Regions from separate parts of the Homo sapiens genome. Here all the other regions are linked to region 6. The links are contacts of gene promoters, found by promoter capture Hi-C in blood cells and fetal thymus (Javierre and others, 2016). All regions are on one chromosome and are shown on one strand. The core of a region is centred on a gene start or on the middle of the fragment in contact, and the rest is flanking DNA. Distances in the headings are between cores, read along the strand shown.

What was found. Contacts are between HindIII fragments. The CHiCAGO score rates a contact against its expected background, and 5 or more counts as called.
Region 1: a contact is called between a fragment that was not itself captured here and the fragment with the promoter of ZNF512B in region 6, in 2 of 17 cell types (neutrophils and activated CD4 T cells). The highest score is 5.2, in neutrophils.
Region 2: a fragment that was not itself captured here is called in contact with the fragment with the promoter of ZNF512B in region 6 in 1 of 17 cell types (activated CD4 T cells); the score reaches 5.6 in activated CD4 T cells.
Region 3: a fragment that was not itself captured here is called in contact with the fragment with the promoter of ZNF512B in region 6 in 7 of 17 cell types (monocytes, neutrophils, M0 macrophages and 4 more); the score reaches 9.7 in monocytes.
Region 4: a contact is called between a fragment that was not itself captured here and the fragment with the promoter of ZNF512B in region 6, in 5 of 17 cell types (total CD8 T cells, M0 macrophages, activated CD4 T cells and 2 more). The highest score is 6.2, in total CD8 T cells.
Region 5: a contact is called between the fragment with the promoter of ARFRP1 here and the fragment with the promoter of ZNF512B in region 6, in 3 of 17 cell types (fetal thymus, naive CD4 T cells and activated CD4 T cells). The highest score is 6.7, in fetal thymus.
Region 7: a fragment that was not itself captured here is called in contact with the fragment with the promoter of ZNF512B in region 6 in 9 of 17 cell types (naive CD4 T cells, activated CD4 T cells, naive CD8 T cells and 6 more); the score reaches 8.2 in naive CD4 T cells.

Annotation. Positions count from the first base shown.
Region 1 is chr20:63,593,492-63,596,191 of GRCh38, forward strand. It overlaps GMEB2 (glucocorticoid modulatory element binding protein 2), which reads right to left. Exons shown (of 10, transcript NM_012384.5): 6 at 2,119-2,276. Among named protein-coding and RNA genes, the nearest start is that of HELZ2, 21 kb to the left of the region's middle. The HindIII fragment of the contact is 6,029 bases long and covers 1-2,700 here.
Region 2 is chr20:63,682,748-63,685,696 of GRCh38, forward strand. RTEL1 (regulator of telomere elongation helicase 1) reads left to right here. Exons shown (of 35, transcript NM_001283009.2): 15 at 2,776-2,850. It overlaps RTEL1-TNFRSF6B (RTEL1-TNFRSF6B readthrough (NMD candidate)), which reads left to right. Exons shown (of 38, transcript NR_037882.1): 15 at 2,776-2,850. Among named protein-coding and RNA genes, the nearest start is that of TNFRSF6B, 12 kb to the right of the region's middle. RefSeq lists an enhancer at 692-1,416. The HindIII fragment of the contact is 9,518 bases long and covers 1-2,949 here.
Region 3 is chr20:63,504,759-63,507,681 of GRCh38, forward strand. LOC105372725 (a long non-coding RNA gene) reads left to right here. Exons shown (of 3, transcript XR_937004.3): 2 at 146-238; 3 at 597-974. Among named protein-coding and RNA genes, the nearest start is that of EEF1A2, 7.1 kb to the left of the region's middle. The HindIII fragment of the contact is 815 bases long and covers 854-1,668 here.
Region 4 is chr20:63,610,125-63,612,829 of GRCh38, forward strand. The region is part of intron 2 of GMEB2 (glucocorticoid modulatory element binding protein 2); the gene reads right to left. Among named protein-coding and RNA genes, the nearest start is that of GMEB2, 16 kb to the right of the region's middle. RefSeq lists an enhancer at 369-538. The HindIII fragment of the contact is 1,398 bases long and covers 726-2,123 here.
Region 5 is chr20:63,706,613-63,709,325 of GRCh38, forward strand. It overlaps ARFRP1 (ARF related protein 1), which reads right to left and starts at 1,364. Exons shown (of 8, transcript NM_001267547.3): 1 at 1,255-1,364; 2 at 387-485; 3 at 39-126. The coding sequence starts at 479. It overlaps ZGPAT (zinc finger CCCH-type and G-patch domain containing), which reads left to right and starts at 1,427. Exons shown (of 7, transcript NM_181485.3): 1 at 1,427-1,506; 2 at 1,941-2,552. The coding sequence starts at 1,969. RefSeq lists enhancers at 430-489, 1,352-2,312 and silencers at 640-689, 780-1,019, 1,440-1,499, 1,540-1,699. The HindIII fragment of the contact is 8,200 bases long and covers 1-2,713 here.
Region 6 is chr20:63,968,660-63,971,589 of GRCh38, forward strand. ZNF512B (zinc finger protein 512B) reads right to left here and starts at 1,271. Exons shown (of 17, transcript NM_020713.3): 1 at 1,155-1,271. RefSeq lists enhancers at 1-160, 161-696 and a silencer at 1,379-1,458. The HindIII fragment of the contact is 18,187 bases long and covers 1-2,930 here.
Region 7 is chr20:63,577,378-63,580,077 of GRCh38, forward strand. No RefSeq gene overlaps it. Among named protein-coding and RNA genes, the nearest start is that of HELZ2, 4.5 kb to the left of the region's middle. The HindIII fragment of the contact is 4,805 bases long and covers 1-2,700 here.

The sequences.
Region 1 (2,700 bases), core at 132-2,631, 380 kb before region 6:
CTCGCCCTCACCTCGCCTCTTCAAGTGATGCTTCATTGAAGTCATCATAAATCTCAGTATCTATCATGTTTCCATTTTTCTACACCAGAACAAGTGGGGCTTTGAGAGACAGAAACCGTCCTGGCTCTTCCTGTGGGTCCCTCTCTCGCGCCTGCAGAACACAACTGGGCGTGTCGTTCATATGTGGCCATTTTGGGCGTTGCTGATAGAGACTTTATACACAGATCTGGCTTAAAAAACAAACCCGGGGCCGGATGTGGTGGCTCACGCCTGTAATCCAGGCACTTTGGGAGACTGAGGCGGGTGGATCACCTAAGGTCAGGAGTTCGAGAACAGCCTGGGCAACACGGCAAAACCCCGTCTCTACTAAAATACAAAGTCAACCGGGTGTGGCGGCGTGCGCCTGTAATCCCAGCTACTCGGGAGGCTGAGGCAGGAGAATCGCTAGAACCCGGAAGGCAGAGGTTGCAGTGAGCCGAGATCAGGCCCCTGCACTCCAGCCTGGGCGACAGAGCAGGACTCCTTCTCCAACACCACCACCAACGACCTGGAAGCAGTTGAATGTTTTGGGAATACTGGCCTTTTCCACATTCATCAAAGACATGGCAGTGGTGAGTATGACTCATATTACACATCTGGAATTATTTGGGGCGTGAATGAGTCGTTTTTCCGAGTTGGGGCTGGCACAGCATCTTTTACTAACTGCACAGTAGCCAAGTCAATGGTTCTCAGAGATTGCAGGTTAAAGAACCCAAATCATCTTCAGAAGAGCTGAGCCTCAGCCTAGCTGTGAGGCACTGACTACAGGGCGTGGAAGGCCCAGTTCCTTCCCTGGCAGGCGGTCAGGCAGGGCCAACACTAACGCGGTGGAGCCGCTGGGGAGGCCCTGGGGAGGACAGACAGGAGGCTGGGCTCTACCCAGCCCCTCTGACCACAGCAGCCCAAGTGTCCTGGGCTTCTCAGGACTCAGCACTGAACCTGCCAGGCTGCCCCAGCAGGACGTGGAAGGGGGCCCAGGAGAAGGGTGAGGCCTCCCTAGTGCCCTGGCCTCACTCTCCTACCCAGCGGGACAGGACAGGACTCAACTGGGTCCCACCTGGGCCAACAACAAGGACGTCCCTGGGCACACAGGAACACAATCTGGCCAGCAATGCGGAGTGGCAGCTTAGGGACAATGCATGTGGCATTGCTGGAAACACATCACCAAAGACCACCCAGAGATGTGACCAGGGAGCCCAGGACCTAACTTCACTTTAACTTCAGTTTTTTTGTTTTGAGATGGAATCTCACACTGTCGCCCAGGCTGGAGGGCAGTGGAGCGATCTCAGCTCACTGCAACCTCCGCCTCCTGGGTTCAAGCGATTCTCCTGCCTCAGCCTCCTGAGTAGCTGGGACTACAGGCATGCACCACCACACCCGGCTAACTTCTGTACTTTTAATAGAGACAGGGTTTCATCCTGTTGGCCAGGCTGGCCTCAAGTGATCCACCCGCCTCGGCTTCCCAAAGTGCTGGGGTTACAGGTGTGAGCCACCACACCCAGCCTAACTGTAGTTTTAAGAAAAATTTCTCTATTCATAAAGCTGGAAAGAATTCTAGGGAACAACCTCTCCACAGTTTAGAGCTACAGACACCAACGTGGAACAGTATCTAAAGCGTCACCCAAAAACCCAAGTGGCAGGAATACCTGCAGCAAGGCACCCAGCACGGAAGGCGGGAGCACAGGCGCGCAGTTCCGTAAACCGCCAGGTCAGGAGGGAAGCGGGTCCAGATTTGGGGCTGGGCCGTGGGGGTGGGAGGGAGGGGGCCGGGTGGGCGCCCAGGCACTCTCTGTTACTCGCTATACCCTTCCCCACACGTGAGTTATTATATTACAACCAAAATGGCTTAAAAAGAAAAGTGCTTCAATCTTCCTTGTCAATGAAAGCAGCAATTCTGCCAGATCTCCTCTGTGAGGCAGGAGGAGGCTGATCCCAGACAACTCAGGGTCCCAGGCAGGAGACCGGCAGTCCTGGCGTGAGCAAACGCCTGGGGCCAAGGAGGCCACCCAGGGGCATGTCACCCTCTGTGGCCATGGCCAGGGTGGGGCTGGGTCAGGACGAGCAGCCCTGTGCACCTACCGTCGGCTGCGGCGGGCGTGAGGGGAATGTACTCGGCCGACGTGGGGCTGCTCAGGGACACACGGGCTCCTGAGAGGTCAATCTTTGTGCTGCGGCAGGTGTTGGAGCAGACCTTGTCATGCTGGTAGAAGTCCAGTTCCCCGGAGTCCATGATCTTCCTGTGACAGACAGTGGCATGGAGCGTCCAGGTCGGCCCCAGAGCCGAAGGCACCTGGCCCGCCCACCCTGACCTGGGCCATCCACCTGCGTGGGGCAGGCCTAGCAGAGGCGCTGGCAGCTCCACAGGGCAGGGTGGGCTCTACTTCCCTCTTAGCGCGAGCTCGGCGTGCAGGACCCTGCTGCTGAAGAAGCAGCCGGCCCAGGCCCACGCTACGGCACTGTCCCCAGGAAGGGGGCAAGCGCTGGCCAGTGGGTGTCCTGGAGGTGCCCGTCAGAGTCTGTGGGGCTGGGCCTTTCTGGGATGTCCCACTACCCCAGCCCCAAGGGAGTGACCCACAGCTAACAAAGGTGGGCCCAGTCCACCTGCATCATGCGTGACTCATTCTGAAGCAGAGGAAGGTGGGAAATCACTTCCAGGAGAAC
Region 2 (2,949 bases), core at 165-2,664, 290 kb before region 6:
CCAGGAAGAGGATGTGGGATGCACAGCTCAGCTGGAGGCGAACTCCAGGCAGGGTCAGGCCGTGTGCTCGGAAGTCAGGGCTTAGCTGGAGGCAAACTCTGGGCAGTGCTGGCCCGTGTTGGGGAACCAGTTGCCCCTGGGCCCCCGTGAGACTGCTGGGTCCTCATCCCTCTCTGCCTGAGGCCGGAGCTGCCCTGGGCTGAGGCACAGGGGGATTTGTGGTGGTGTTTTTTTGAGAAAGGGTCTCGCTTTGTCACCCCGGCTGGAGTGCAGGGGCTTGATCACAGCTCACTGCAGCCTCAACCTCCTGGGCCCAAGTGATCCTCTTGCCTCAGCCACCCGAGGAGCTGTGAACACAGGTGTGCACCACCGCACTCAGCTAATTTTTAAAATTTTTTTGTAGAGATGAGGTCTTGCCATGTTTCCCAGGCTGGTCTCAAACTCCTGGGCTCAGGCAGTCTGCCCGCCTTGGCCTCCCAAAGTGCTGGGATTACAGGCAAGAGCTTCCATGCCTGCCCAGCAGAAGGCTTTTCGAAGGAAGCTGTTTCCTGAGGCAGACTCAGCCCTGCTCATGGCAGCCACCAGCGTGGGGGTGAACTTGTTCTGTTACTTCCATCCCCGTGGGCCAAATGCTTTGGTAAAACACAAGGCCCTGTGTTTAGCTGTCTTGACAGTGAAAATGGCTGGGAAGGAAGGAAGGAACGGAAGGAAATTTCTCTCTCCTTCTGTGCGTACCCAGGCACGTGCACATGCATGCAGAGTACGCACACACGCACGCACGCCTGCACAAATCCACGCATGTTGCCAAGTCTCTGTGTTCCAGCCGTGGTGTCTGCCCCCCGGTGTTCTCTAGTTCGGCTTCTCCGCATTTCTGTGAATGATTCCGGCTTCTTGGTGTTCCCAGCAGAACTCCCTCAAGTCTGCGGCGGGGCTCTGACGGCGGTGGCTTGGCTGACATGGCCACATTGCTGAGCCTGTTGGGGGCTTTGCGTTCCTGTTCTGGCCGTTTTTGGCTCGTTTTCCAGGAACGGTCGTCACGCGCTCCTCTCCTAGTGCAGGCATCATTCCTTTCCCATTGATTTGCAGGGTTCTCTGTAAGTTCTGAGGATCCCATATACATATACTCTCTGTAAGTTCTGAGGATCCCATATACATATTCTCTCTCTAAGTTCTGAGGATCCCATATACATATTCTCTCTCTAAGTTCTGAGGATCCCATGCCGACATACATATTCTTTCCTTGTCTCATGCTGGTCATTTTTTCCATTTTCATGACAGGTTTGGTGAACACATGTTTCCTTGTCAGATTTTTGTTCTGAGCTTGTGCCTCCCGACCAAGATGCTAAACCGGGTCTTGTGTATTCTCCAAACTGCACTGTAGAGTGACGGAGCTTTGTGTCTGGGCCTCCATGCCTTCTGACGTCACCTGTGGGGGTGTGAAAGGCAGACTCTACCTTGATTTTTCCCAGCACGCCACACCGGTGGTTCTGTGCGCTGACCGAGCGGCTCGGCTTCCCCCAACTCCACTGGGCACCTGCCACACTTTTCCTCATGTTTTTGTTCACTGTGGTTTTGTCGTAAGTCCTGGTGTTGGCCTGAACCAATTTCTTTTTGTTTGTTTTTGAGACAGAGTTTTGCTCTTGTTGCCCAGGCTGGAGTGCAGTGGCGCGATCTCGGCTCACTGCAAGCTCCGCCTCCCGGGTTCACGCCATTCTCCTGCCTCAGCCTCCCAAATACCTGGGATTATAGGCACCTGCCACCACGCCTGGCTAATTTTTTGTATTTTTAGTAGAGACGAGGTTTCACCGTGTTAGCCAGGATGGTCTCGATCTCCTGACCTCGTGATCCGCCTCCCAAAGTGCTGGGATTACAGGCATGAGCCACCGTGCCCAGCCTGATATTTTTAGTAGAAATGGGGTTTTGCCATGTTGGCCAGGCTGGTCTCGAACTCCTGACCTCAGGTGATCCTCTCACCTTGGCCTCCCAGAGTGCTGGGATTACGGGTGTGAGCCACCACGCCCGGCCTCTTGTTCTTTTGAAACCTGCCCTGACGTTTTTTCCATAGTGCATCTTGGAGTCAGCGTGTCTACTTCCTGTAAAAATCTTACTGTGATTTTGACTAGAATGTGTTGAATTCCTGTTTTTTTTTTGAGTCAGGGTCTCTCTGTTGCCCAGGCTGGAGTGCAGTGGGACCATCACAGCTCACTGCAGCCTCAACCTCCTGGGCTCAGGGGATCCTCTCAGCTCAACCTCCCAAGTAGCTGGGACCACAGGCACATGCCACCATGCCCGGCTAGGTTTTTTTTTTTTTTTTTTTGGTGAACACCCTGGGGTTGCACCATGTTGCCCAGGCTGGTCTCGAACTCCTGGGTTCGGGCAGTTTGCTCCTCTCAGCCTCCCGGAGTGCTGGGATTACAGGCCTGAGCCACTGCACTAGGCCATGTTGAATTTCTAGATTAATTTGGGGCCCTCAGGGGCACAGAGAGGAGGGCTGGGCCAGTTGGCGGGAGGAGAGGCCCCTCGGGCTGCCGCATTTTCAGTGCATGGAGATGGCCTATGTTGGGGGAACACAGAGCTCACCGGGGGTCCCTGCAGGGAGGAGAAAGGGTCAGGCAGGTGCCAGCTCCTGTCCATTGGCCTGGGGCTGCATGATGGCAGGGGCCGGTGAACCGATGACCCCTGGGTGTCCTGTGACCTTCTGTGTATGCGGCTGATGCTGCAGAAAGTCGGGTGGCCTCAGGCTCCTGACGGGGCTGCACTTCCTCTGCCTTTCAGATTGTGTTCAGTGTGGACCCCTCCGAGGGCAGCCCTGGTTCCCCAGCAGGGCTGGGGGCCTTACAGTCCTATAAGGTAGGGGCCACCTCCAGGAGGCAGGTGGAGGGCAGCCCTTGTTCCCCGGCAGGGCTGGGGGCCTTACAGTCCTATAAGGTGGGGGCCACCTCCAGGAGG
Region 3 (2,923 bases), core at 11-2,510, 460 kb before region 6:
AATTGATAATTGGCTTTTACCCCTTGAGCGTGGGTTGCATTGTCCTGTTTCTTCGTGTGTCTAGTGATTTTTGACTGAATACTGAACATCATGTGGAGAGTCTACTCTGCTTCCTCCTCTGAAGCTGTCGGTGTTTGCTTTGCAGGTTGGTTCACTGCTGGGCCCTGTGGACTTGTTCTCATGCTTTGTCAGTGTCGATGTCGAAAGCCCAAAGTGTTTCCCAAGTCCTGCTACCTTGGTAAGACTCAACCCTCAATCTCAGTCTCCCCTGCAGATCTCTGTGGGGCTTGGTCTGAACTTTCGTTAGGTGAGTGTGGAGTAGGCATTATTGTACATTGTAGTCCTTTCTCCTCAAAAAAAAAAAAAAAAAGTAAGGTCTCTCCACTCTAGCCAGGTCCAAATGCCAAATGCCAATGCCGCCCAAGTCTCTCCACTCTGGCCAGGTCCAAATGCCAAATGCCAAAATACTGCCCGACACAGCTTGTCCTCTACTATCTTTGTTCTGCTCTAACCTGGGTGGATACAACCTCAGGTAATCCCTGGTGAGTCGCAGCCTTGAGTACTTTCCTCCGAGAAACACTACGGTTTGTGTCCAGCCCATAGAACACAGAAAGGTGATAAGTCACTCTGTGATTGGCTGCATCATTCCAGGCTCTGTCCTGGGGGACGGAGCAGCAAGACACCCCTGCTGTCTGTGAAGATATGGCTGTTGGAAGGCATGGGAGGGGCCTCGTATCAGGGAACCAGTGAGTGGCCCCAGGCTGCCAGCCAACAAGAAAGCAGGGACCTCAGTCCTACAGCCACAAGGAACTGAATTCTGCCAACAACCACGTGGCCTTCAAAGAGGACCTCAAGCTTCAGAAAGAAATACCAACACCTTGGTGGCACTCTTGAAACCCCGAGCCACCCAGCGGAATTGTGTGTGGGCTCCTGACCCCCCAAAACTGAGAATAAATGCATGTTTTTTAAAGCTACTAAATCGGTGTTGATTGGTTATGCAGTGACGGATAACAGCACAGGGCCTATAGTCACTGCTCTCTGGTGAGCCTCCGGCACCTCCTCACCCTCAGCCACAGGCTTGCAGAGGTCCCAAGCACTCCCCACCAGCAACATGCACACCTAAGCCCCTCACTCCAGTCTCTGCCTCTCATCCCAGGGGGACTGCCGTGCTCTGCCTGGAGCCCTGCTTGTGGGGTTATGGCCAAGGAGAGCCGGGAGTGTGGGCGCCTCCAAGCACCCTCTCGGTCTTGTGCTGTCCTCACCCCACTGCCTGAAGAGAGCAGCGCACGAATTTTGTCTGGTCTCAGAGTCGTTTCTGGAGGGAGACGTACCTGGCAGCAGCTACTCCCCCGCAACTGGAAGCAGCGGTTGACTCCACATCAATACAAAGACAAGGTTACTTCAGTCTTTTTACTTTTATATTTTATTGTTTTACTATTTTCACGGTATATACATTGGGCCTGTCTTTTTAAAAATCTTTTATGACACTGAAACTTTTGAAGAATGCAAACCGGTTGTTTTGTAGATTGTCCCCGCATTGAGCGTTCCTGACATTTCTGCATGAACAGATTGGCACCAAGAGCCAGGCATCCTTCCCAGCACTCGGGACGCTGGCTGCCCACCAGCGGCAACGGTACCTTTGATCCTCTGGTTAAACTGGCATCCACAAGCTTCTCACAGTAAAGTTACCACTTTGCCCTTTGTAACTGATAAGTAAGCCGGGCACGGTGGCTGACACCTGTAATCCCAGCACTTTGGGAGGCCAAGGCGGGTGGATCACTTGAGCCCAGGAGTTCAAGACCAGCCCGGCCAAAATGGTGAAACCCCATCCCTACTAAAAATTCAAAAATTAGCCAGGTATGGTGGCACATGCCGGTATTCCCAGCTACTCAGGAGGCTGAGTCACGAGAATCGCTGGATCCCGGGAGGCAGAGGTTGCAGTAGCCAAGATCATGCCACTGCACTCCAGCCTGGGTGACAGAGTGAGTGAGAATCTGTCTCAAAAAAAACCCTGAAAATTAACAAGGAAGTACTTTTGATACTGGTGGCCAGGGGAGGTCCCCAAATGCGAATGGGACCTTGACCCAGGCCAGTGTCCTGCCTCTTAACACCATCACAAAACGAATTCAAGGATGAGTTAAAAAATAATGAAAGTAGAGATTTATTGCAAAGCAAAAAGTACACCCTCCAGAAAGCAGAGTGTGGCTGGGTGTGAAGGCTCACGCCTGTAATCCTAACACATTGGGAGGCTGAGGCAGGAGTTCGAGATCAGCCTGGGCAACATAGTGAGACCCTGCCTCATAAAAATAAACAAGCAAATAGAAAAAAAAGTCAAAGAAGAAAGGGGAGTATGGGTGTTCTCAAGAAAGTGAGTCGTGAGGCAGGGTTTGGGGCCCCTACCTTTAATGGGTTTCTTTAACCAAGGAGTGGAATATTCATAAAGATTTCTGGAAAAAGGTGAAGATTTCTAGGAACTGTGGTGCCACCCTTTTTTACACCAAATATGTGTGTTCCTGGAACTGTCATGGCACTGCCGAGTGTGATTTGTGTGTTGATGAGCATATAATTAGGTCACCGGTGAAACCCAGGTCAAGTCCGCTGCCATGTGGGTCCAGTCGTCTCGGCCAGCGTGGCCCAGTGGGTCCAGTCATCTTGTCCAGCTCGGCCCAGTGGGTCCAGTAGTCTCGGCCCAGCTCGGCCCAGTGGGTCCAGTCGTCTCGGCCAGCGTGGCCCAGTGGGTCCAGTCATCTTGTCCAGCTCGGCCCAGTGGGTCCAGTCGTCTCGGCTCAGCTCGGCCCAGTGGGTCCAGTCGTCTCGGCCAGCGTGGCCCAGTGGGTCCAGTTGTCTCGGCTCAGCGTGGCCCAGTGGGTCCAGTCCTCTTGGCCCAGCTCGGCCCAGTGGGTCCAGTCGTCTCGGCCCAGCT
Region 4 (2,705 bases), core at 175-2,674, 360 kb before region 6:
GGAGAAGCTGGGAGAGGTCTGGGTGGGGTTCCCAGCTGTGCACCTCATAACAGCCAACTGTATGATGTGTGCACTTCTAAACTTCCAGAAGTTTGCTTAAAAACACACGCACACCAGCCGGGCACGGTGGCTCACACCTGTAATCCCAGCACTTTGGGAGGCCGAGGCAGGCGGATCACAAGGTCAGGAGATCGAGACCATCCTGGCTAACACGGTGAAACCCCGTCTCTACTAAAAATACAAAAAATTAGCCGGGCGTGGTGGCGGGCGCCTGTAGGCCCAGCTACTCAGGAGGCTGAGGCAAGAGAATGGCGTGAACCCGGGAGGTGGAGGTTACAGTGAGCCGAGATCGCGCCATTGCACTCCAGTCTGGGCGACAGAGTGAGAATCTGTCTCAAAAAAAGAAAACAAAACAAAAAAAACATGTAGCAAGAGGAAGTCTCAATTTCCAGATGGTAGAAGAACAGATTTAATTCCCCACAAAAAAGAAGAGGATCTTTAAGTCCTTCAAGACAGCCCTGCCTCAGCTGCCACGTGGGGTTCTCTTCTCAGAGAAGAAGGCGCATGCAGACTCTCCACTGCTCCATAAGCCACTGTCCCGCGAGGGCAGAGCCTTGGCGTCCTGGCAAAGCAACTGCAGACTGAAAAATGCCCTCTGGTCCTTCATGGCTCCCTCCATCAAGACAGGGGGCTATTTCCCACCCCCTCCACTTGACTTTGGGCCAAGCTTTGAAGAGCTTTGACCAAGAGGCTGTGACGAGGCCCTACGAGGACTCTGGCTCTCCTCCTGCTAAGCACACCCAGGCAGGTGTCCTGGCAGATGAGGACCACATGCAGAGCCTCGGCCAGCCCACCAATGCCCGGATATGCAAGTGAGCCCAGCCTGGACCCCCCGGCGAGGCCCAGCAGCACCAGCCCAGGCCCGAAAACCTTAAGAAATGACCAGTGTCTGCTGCTTTAAGCCACCAAGCTCTGCGGTGGTTTGTTAGGCTGCAAGCATGGCTAATTCAGAAACTGCCAGAAACAAGCACTGCTGTCCCCAGCCTGGGACACACAGCACCGCCTCTGCGTGGGGAGAGGGCACAGGCTAAGGGCACAAATGCCATCCCAGACCCGGCTCTTGTGTGTGGAAGGGGCCACTGTGCCATGAGGCAGAGGAAACCTTGGCAGGACCTTATGCCACAGCAATTTAAAAGAGAAGAAACAGGCTGGGCGTGGTGGCTCATGCCTATAATCCCAGCACTTTGGGAGGCCAAGGTGGTGGATCACTTGAGGTCAGGAGTTCAAGACCAGCCTGGCCAATATGGTGAAACCCTGTCTCTACGAAAAATACAAAATTTAGGCAGGCGTGGTGGCGGGTGCCTGTAATCCCTGCTATTCAGGAGGCTGAGGCAAGAGATTTACTTGAACCCGGGAGGTGGAGGCTGCTGCAGTGAGCTGAGATCATGCCACTGCACTCCAGCCTGTGTGACGGAGTGAGACTTGGTCTCAAAAAAAAAAAAGGAAACACATCTGACTAGTGTGATCTCGCAAGGAACATTCCAGACACAGTGGAGCTAGAAGGTTCTTCTCCAAACAAGGAATCCCCAGGGGATCAAATTGTTTTGCATCGGCCAGACATGGTGGCTCAAGCCTGTAACCCCAGTGCTTCGGGAGGCTGAGGTGGGAGGACTGCTTGAGTCCAGGAGTTCAAGACTAGCTTGGGCAACACAGTGAGAGCCCATTAGCCAGGCGTGGTGGCACATGCCTGCAGTCCCAGCACTGTACTAAAAATCTACACGGGGCCGGGCATGGTGGCACATGCCTGTAGAGTCCCAGCTACTCAGGAGGCTGAGGCAGGACGATTCCTTGAACCCAGGAGGTCACGGCTGCCATGAGCCGTGACTGTGCCACTGCACTCCAGTCTGTGCAACAGAACGAGACTCTGTTTCGAAAAACAAAAAATCATTTCATGTCTCCAGTTTCTCCACTGGCAAAAGACTCTGTCAAGGTAAAAAATGGTTCTGACCCACAGAAATCTAAGAAAGGAAAAAATATAAAAAATAGAAAATTTAAAAAAGAGATGGTCTCAGAATAAAGACCAACCTGGGCTATGGTTGTCACTCTTCCCTCACACCTTAGAAAGCTTTCTGGCCGCATCTGGCCAAAGGGCCACCCTGCCCCATCTTGGATCAGTGAGGTGCCTTCGAACAAGCCACCTGCCCTGGAGCCCGTCCTGTCTTGTCTGCCACCGCACGCTCAGTAGGGGAGGGGAAGTCGCTAGGTTTTAGTTCACCAGTCTCTGGATCAAGACGTGCCATAACCAAGAAGCCCCAGCCACACCCAGACCCGACGTGGCCACAAGGGGTGAGCTGGGAAGGCCCAGGAAAAGGCGGGAGGCGGACGAATGGAAATGTCATTCTGTGGCCACAGAAATGATCTCAACGTTTTGTAACTTCCTACCAAGAGGCAGTCTTAGCTCTGCCCTTGAACCAGCACTTGGTGATGTCGCTTGCGTCAATCAAGGCAACAGAAGTGAGCAGGAGGCCCACTTTCCTCTGCAACTGTGGGCTTACGGGGCAAAGAAGTCCAGGCCTCCAGGTGGAGGATCACAGACCGGGCAAAGCAGAGGAGAGCCACCCAGCCGAGCCTACCTGTGCCTCAGACTGCCTCCCTCCAGAGACCCCTGTGGCCAAGGCCACCCAGACCAGCAGGTCCTTGCCAAG
Region 5 (2,713 bases), core at 114-2,613, 260 kb before region 6:
AAGGCCCCAAACCCACAGCCTGCTATTGAGACCCTTACTGTTTAGGCCCACGGTGGTGGTGATTTTGGATAGACTCATCCCCTTGTAGTTCTTGTTAAATCGGGTTTTCGACTGCTCCAGGAAGGTCTGAGGAGAGAGGCAGAGGCGAAACACATCAAGGAGGGGCTATACTGGCTTCCAAATATCCTTACTCAGGTCTGTTCTTTAAAAGACAGAAACAGAAACAGAGCAACACTCTGCTCTTCAGGAGGCTGGTGGTGACTATCCTGCCGTCTCAGGTGAAATTTGGCTTCCGTCTGGGTAGTGAACGTGCAGCTGACAGCACAAAACCGAAGGGGGCGCCGCCAGGCCGTGGGAAAGGTGCGCGCAAGGGCGTGGGCACTCACCGTCTTCCCAGCATTGTCCAGGCCCAGGATCAGGATGCAGTACTCGTCCTTCTGAAACATGTACTTGTACAAGCCCGACAGCAGCGTGTACATCCTGCCCTGGGCACCCCAACATAGGTCAGTGTGCAGCCAGAAAGCACCTCCCCTCCCCCGGGCTTCTCCACGGTGGTCAGTGGCGCCCCACGTCCAGCCGACCGCTCAGGACGAGAGCCTGGGGGCCATTCCCGACTCCTCGTCCCTCTCCCACCCCGTCCCTCTGTAACTTCTCCCAGGTCAGCCGCCACTGTGTCCTGCTCACAGCAATGACTGCGACCTCTCCGCATACACATCGGTTCCGGCCCCTCCCCTGCTCGCGGGACTACCCAGCCGGGTGTTCACAGTGAGCTCAGCCGCGCTCCCGCCCTCCCCCGAGGCTTCGCTCCCACGCTTCACGCGCGCGGAACGGGGAACACACTCGCTGCAGCCCCGCCTGGGCCACGGCACCCTCGAGCGCCAGCCCCGCGCCCCACCCGGGAGCAGCGAGCCACCGGCGCGCTCCCCAGGAGCCCCTGCAGGCGCCGGGTAGGGACGCCCCATCACCCCATTTCTTAAAACGGGGACGGCCCTGGGGGGAGCGGACTACAGGGCGGGTGAGCAGCGGCGCGGCTGCTCCTGGAGTGCACCTGGAGGCGGCGCGCGGCTGGCAGGGAACGACTGCGAAGGAAGAACCTGGGTCGCGGCCCCCGGCTACGTCCGCCCCAAGCCGCCGCCGCCAGGTCTGAGGCTCCCCGACAAGCAGCCAAAGCTGGCTCCTGTCACACCCGCGTCCCACCTCGAGTCCTGGGCCGCCCCTCGGGCCTCGCGCCTCACCGCACAGCCTGCGGCCTACCTGCGTCCGCCGCGCCCTCGGAGCCGCTGCTGCTGACCCCCGCTGACCTCCGCTGACCCCGCGCTAACCCCGCGCGGCGCCTGACGGGACGCGGGCCGGCCTCAGGGAATGAGCTGAACCGCGTCCCAGCGGCCTCCGCGCTCCGCTTCCCGGCTGCCCCCGCGCGCCAAGCACTTCCGGAAGCGGCGGCGCTCGGGAGGAAGTGCCGATCGGCTGCTGGGGCGAAAAGGGGGCGCCGGGCCGCTCTAGCCGGTGAGGCCGGCGGGCTCTCTGTGGCTGCGGCTGGGAAACCGCGCGGAGGAGGTGCCCGGCCGGGGACCAGGTGGCCGCGGTTTGCGGGGACGCGGCCCTGGCCAGACAGAAGAGACGCCGGGCGGGGGGGCGCGGCCGGCCTGGAAGGCGGCGGGCGCGGCGGGTGGGCTCGGCGGAGGGTGAGGCGGCGGGGCGCCCCGCGGGGAAGGGGCTCCGGAGTGACGCGGGACCCGGCTAGCGGCGAGCCCACGGCGGCTCGGAAGGGAAGCGCGGAGCCTGAGCGGGGGTACCCGGGCTGCGACCTCTGCGCTGGGAGCTGTGCCTCTGAGCCGGTGTCTCCCCGAGGGAAAGGGGACGTGCCCGTGCCCGTGCCCGCCCTCAGGCTGTGGGGTCGGTCCCGAGACGCGGGGCTCAGCTGGCTTCTCTTCTTGCAGCCCTGGTCCAGCGCCTCCCTCTCTCAGCATGGACGAGGAGAGCCTGGAGTCGGCCTTGCAGACCTACCGTGCGCAGCTGCAGCAGGTGGAGCTGGCCTTGGGCGCCGGCCTGGATTCGTCTGAGCAGGCTGACCTGCGCCAGCTGCAGGGGGACCTGAAGGAGCTCATCGAGCTCACCGAGGCCAGCCTGGTGTCTGTCAGGAAGAGCAGCTTGTTGGCCGCGCTGGACGAAGAGCGCCCGGGCCGCCAGGAAGATGCTGAGTACCAGGCTTTCCGGGAGGCCATCACTGAGGCGGTGGAGGCACCAGCAGCGGCCCGTGGGTCCGGATCAGAGACCGTTCCTAAAGCAGAGGCGGGGCCAGAATCTGCGGCAGGTGGGCAGGAGGAGGAAGAGGGAGAGGACGAGGAAGAGCTGAGTGGGACAAAGGTGAGCGCGCCCTACTACAGCTCCTGGGGCACTCTGGAGTATCACAACGCCATGGTGGTGGGAACGGAAGAGGCGGAGGATGGCTCGGCGGGTGTCCGTGTGCTTTACCTGTACCCCACTCACAAGTCTCTGAAGCCGTGCCCGTTCTTCCTGGAGGGAAAGTGCCGCTTTAAGGAGAACTGCAGGTAAAGCCCTTTGTTGTCAGATGCCAACCTTAGGGGCGTAAGGGGCACGCACACAGGGTCGGGTCAGGATCGGCCCTCCCTTTGCTTTGCAGTTTTGTCTCAGCTTCCTGGGGCAGGCGTGCTTTGACAGCTGTGTCTGTGTTCAGGCGTCTACGTCTTCC
Region 6 (2,930 bases), core at 21-2,520:
CAGACTTGTCTCCAGGCTTGGCAGGCTGACCCGCCCCCCACCTCTCTCTGGATCCTCTCAGTCCTCTGCCTACAGACCCACCACTACCACTTCAGCCAAACAAGTCGTGGAAGCACCAGCAGTGAAGGCCCAGGATGCTGGCCAGAGAGAACGCCCTGCTGCCCAAGGCTGGGGCCCCCGAGGGCCTGTGCTGCTGGGAACCCCATCCTGAGAGCTGGGGAGCAGAGGAGACTCTGGGCCCAGCCCTGTGGAAAAGCCACGGAAGGGGGTGGGACAGGAAGCAGGGTGAGGGTTGAGTGGGCAGGTGGCCCCCTCCTGATAGCTTCTAATTAACTTGGATCCGAGGGGATGGGAAGGGGCTGCTGTGTCCAGGAGGGCCAGAGAGCTGAGGTCAGAGGTCAGGACAGTCACTGCCCATTGCCAAGGGGGAGGCCAGTGTCCGGGGACAAAGTTCTCTGGAAGTCCTCACTTTGCAACTTTTGAAAGGAGACAGGGCCGGCATGAGTCATCCCAGCACCTGATGACCCCGGTGGCCTGGGGTGCAGGTGCCTGCTGAGGCCCCACTTCCAATTTTTCTGAAGCCTGGGAGAAGAATTCAGAATAGTGGGGCCTGAGGCCAGGGCCAGCCTGGGAGGCAGAGACGCGACTGGCGCCCCGGATGAGAAGGGGCTTCGGCCCTCCCGAGCCCAGCGGGGACACAGAGCCCTCGCGGGGAGAGGGGGCTCCGCCGCGCTGCGCGCAGGAGACGCCAGCAGCGGGTCCGCCGCGTAGGCCGTTCGGCCCGGGACCCCGGCCCAGGCCTGGCGCGCGGGTGAGCGCGGCCAGGGACGCGCACCTGGGGCCAGCCTCGCCACCCACCTGTCACCTGGGGCCGGGAGCGGGCGCGGGGCGCGGGCCTCGGCCTGGCCGGGCAGGGCCGATCGCGGGCGCGGGGTGGGGGGGCGAAGGCAGTGAACCAAAATGGCGACTTTTTCTGGAGAAGGAGGAGGCAGGAAGACGGCGCCGGCGCGGGGCGCGGGGGCTCGGGCGCGGCGGGGGGCGGGGGGGCTCCGGGCCCGGCCCCCTCCTTGGCCTGCGCGCAGGGTCGAGATCCGGGGCGCGGTGGGCGCCGGGGCTGCGGCCAGAATGGGTCCGGGGCGCGGCCGGGCGCTTACCTGCGGCGCCCAGCGGGGCTGCGGCCGGGCCGGGCCGGGCCGGGGCGGGGGGCGCGGGGCGCGGGGCGCTGGGTCCGGGCGGCGCAGGCTGCGCGCCGCGCTGCGCACATGCGCGCTCCCGCCCCTCCCACCTTTGACAGTTTTACTGCGGGGGGGAGGGGGCGAACTCTCGCGTTATTCCCGCGGCCGCTCCGCGACGGGGAGGGGGCGGGGAGGGGGCGGGGGCGGGGGCGGGGGCCCGGCGCTGGCCTGTGGTTCCCCCGCTCCGCGGTTCCGCCCCCGTCGGCCGGGCCCGCAGTCCAGAGTAGCCGGTTCTGCCGTCCTGGGGCGGGGGACGTTTTTTGGACAGTGGGGTAAACTGAGGCCCGATAGGGGCGCTAGGCACTGCCCGGAGTCCGGCGCGCACGGATTGAGGCGACCTGATTCCGCCGCATCCTGGCCCGCGCGGCGAGTGTGGTCTCTGGGCTCGGGACCCTGACCTCTGGCCCTGGGGGCCGTGCACCGGCAGCGCAGGATTCAGCCTTCTTCCAACTGGCCCTGAGACCACTTTTGCGACTGACCCCCGGAGGTGCCTGGCGGCTTAAGGCCATGGGGTTTTACTGGGGTCACTGACCATTGGGTCACCCTTTCCCAGCTCTGGGGGCAGTGGTTCTGAACCAGTGCCAGGGCCTTCTCTGCCCCACAGCTTGGGCTTCTGCAGGCAGGGGGCACTGGGGTCCGGTGTGGGCTGAGTGGTCTGGAGGTGGCGGGGCACTGACAGCACAGGACTTGGGAATGAATGAGACAGAGAAAGGTTGGCTCTCCTAAAGAGGACTGGTAGGAGGCACCACACGGGACTGGCACAGGACCCACAAGAATCTCCCCCAGGAGAGCCTGCCTGCCTGCCTGCCTGCCTTCCTTCCTTCCCTCTCTTACTTCCTTCTCTCCTTCCTTCCTTCCTTCTTCCTTCCCTCCCTTCTCTTCCTTCCCTTCCCTCCCTCCCTCCCTTCTTCCTTCCTTTCCTTCCTTCTTCCTTCCTTCCTTTTCTCTTTCCTTCCTTCTCTTCTCTTCCCTCCCTCCCTTCCTCCCTTCCTTCTCTTCCTTCCCTTACCTTCCTCCCTCCCTTCTTCCTTCCTTTCCTTCCTTCTTCCTTCCTTCCCTTCCCTTCCTCCCTTCCTTTTCTCCTTCCTTCCCTTCCTTCTCTTCCCTCCCTCCCTTTCTCCTTCCTTCCTTCCTTTCTCTCTCTTTCTTTTTCTCCCCTCCCCTCCCTTCTCCTCCCCTCCCTTCCCCTCCTCTCCTTTCTCCTTCTCCGTTCTTTTTTTATTCTTGAGATAGGGTCTCGCTCTGTCATTCAGGCTGGAATGCAGTGGTGTGATCTTGGCTCACTGCAGCCTCTACCACCTGGGCTCAAGCAATCCTCCCACCTCGGCCTCCCAAGTAGCTGGAACTACAGGTGTGTGCCACCCCACCTGGCTAAGTTTTAAAGTATTCATAGAGACGAGGTCTTTCTGTGTTGACTAGGCTGGTCTTGAACTCCTGGGCTTAAGCCATCTTCCTGCCTCAGCCTCCCACAGTGTGGGCATTACAGGTGTGACCCACCGCCTCTGGCTAGGAGGGCATTTTTTTTTTTTTTTTTTTTTGAGACAGAGTCTGGCTCTGTAGCCCAGGCTGGAGTGCAGTGGTGCGATCTCGGCTCACTGCAAGCTCCGCCTCCTGGGTTCATGCCATTCTCCTGCCTCAGCCAACCAAGTAGCTGGAACTACAGGCGCCCACCACCACGCCCGGCTAATTTTTTTG
Region 7 (2,700 bases), core at 176-2,675, 390 kb before region 6:
GGCGTAAGGGAAACGCAAACCAGCCCCAGACAACCCGTCCACCCCTCTGACATTGCAGGCACTCGGCCAGAGTCTAAACTGGCAGCACCGCTCTGGAAACCAGCCAGGCCCGGGAGCACAGGACACGCGCCTTCCACGTGGCTCCACAGAGGCTCCTGCACAGAGGGACATCTGTGCCCACCAACAGCTCCCGGCAGCTCCTTCTACACCCAATGGACCGGGAATGCCCAGGGCCCCTCGCTCAGGGTCTATGTAATGGGCAGTCTCCACCCTGTGCCATGGAAGACTCTAAGGCCATTAAAAATGAGGTTGGCCAGGCACGGTGGCTCACACCTGTGATCCCAGCAATTTGGTAGGCTGAGGCGGGAGGATCACTTGAGCCCAGGAGTTCAAGACCTCAGTAAGCTGTGATGGTGCCAGTGCACTCCAGCCTGGGAGACAGATCAGGACTGTGCGGCCAGGACAGGAGGGAGATGTCCTGTTTCCGCCCACCTTTCACATCTGTGCACGTCTTCTTAACTCAAAACAAAAACAAAAAGTGCCACCTCGAGTCCACAGAGCATTGAAAACCTGCAGGTTGCCGTGGACAGCTCTCTGGCTCCCGTCCAGCTGTGCTCAGGCCACAGTGACCCCTAACACGGGCTGAGTGTGAGACCACGGGAGAGAGTTCCACGTACACACAGCACACGGCCAACACGCTCACACGGGCTGAGTGTGACACCACGGGACAGAGTTCCACGTACACACAGCACACGGCCAACAACACGCTCACACGGGCTGAGTGTGAGACCACGGGACAGAGTTCCACGTACACACAGCACACGGCCAACAACACGCTCACACGGGCTGAGTGTGAGACCACGGGAGAGAGTTCCACGTACACACAGCACACGGCCAACAACACGCTCACACGGGCTGAGTATTAGTAATATTATTGTATCCACGTCAGCTTCCTGACTTTGTAACAGACAGCTTCCACGTTCTGAGGAAACACACCTTGAAGTGATGGGGTAAAGGGTGAAGGGTGAAGGGTGAAGGGGTATCGTATCTGAAAGGTGAAGGGGTATCGTGTCTTAGTCTCAATTGCCTGGAACTACAGGCTTCTACAGAACCGGCAAATGGGCCAGAACAAAGCGACTGGTGAGTCCGCATAGAGCACAGGGAGTCCTTTGTTCTATTTTTGCAACATTTGTGTACGTTTGTTTAAATTATTATATCAAAATACAAAGTAAGAAATGTCTGCCCAACACCCTCAGCTTGTCTCATCCCGGTCCCTAGGTCCTCCTCACCCAGCGTCCCTGCCAGTGGGTTCCATGGCCCCCCAGTGCCAGCCTGCCGTCTGCTGCCCTCTGCCGTCTGCCATCACCTGAACCCTGCAGGAAAACGTACACACTGTCCCCAGCGTCACGAAGCAGGTGGAGGTCCCCAGGGCTTAGGGCCAGGCCTCAGTTTACCTGTGACTGTGGGCCATGTGCTCTCGGGCAGGAACTGACGGCCTCTGGGTATAACTCGCTTAAGCAGGTCTTTAACACCCGGTTCCCATCTTTCCAGAGACCCTCCCGGGCGCCCTCCCACCAGCCAAAAGCTCACACCCCTAGTGGAGGAGGTGATAGGGTCTGCAGTGGGAGGGAGTGGAGCCGATTTCAGATCTCCTCCTCTTGGCCTTGTGGGAGCCGTGCAGCCGGGAGGCCTCCTTCGAGATGAGCCCCTGGGGAGAAAGTCAGGGGGACCACACCTTCTCCTTGCAGGGGTGCCAGAAGGATCTGATGGGGGTTTAGTCCCAGGATGGGTCTACGCCCCCCGGGGCCTCCCAGCTGCTCTGTCCTCTCTCCCTGCCTGGCCTCTGCACACACAGCCATGTGCGTGTGACATTGTGAAATATACATTAACATATTTGGTCTCGTCCCGTTTCCTGGCAAAAACCCCTAAAATCCCTGGAGTAGCCAAAGTGGCAAGTGCCTTTTTGTGCTGATATTGACCGAAGGCTGGCAGCCTGGAGGCAGCCTCAGGATGGGGCTGGTCCTCAGAAAGGCCTCAGCAGGAGTAGAGGGTGGTACTTGCAGCCTTGCCCCAACCTCCAGGCAGGGGAGGGGAGAGGCGGCTGAAGGCGGTCCTCACCAGTGGCCAGTGACGTAATCAATCATGCCTGGGTAATGAAGCCTCCATGAAGTCGCAAAAGGACAGGGCTCAGAGAGCCGTGGAGGTTCCTGGACGGGGTGCCCTTGTGGGGTGAAAGCTCTGCGCCCCTCCCCTTACGCATCTCTTCATCTGCGTCCTTTGTAACGTCCTTTATAATAAATGGGTAAACATGTTTCCCTGAGTTCTGTGAGCTGCTCTAGGAAATTAATCTGACCCAAATATGGGGGTTAGGAACCTCAATTTATAGCCAATTGGTCTGAAGCACCCGGGGCTTGAGATTGGCATGGGGAGTGGGCAGCAGCCTTGTGTGGACATCTCCAGGTAGATGAGGATGTCTAAGGACAGATGGCGTCTCCAGCTAGATGGTGTCTCCAGGTAGACAACAACGTCTATGAATTGACGGTGTCTCCAGGTTAACAACAATGTCTCCAGGTTAACAACAATGTCTCCAGGTAGACAACAATGTCTATGAATTGATGGTGTCTCCAGGTTGACAACAATGTCTATGAATTGATGGTGTCTCCAGGTTGACAACAGTGTCTCCAGGTAGACAACAATGTC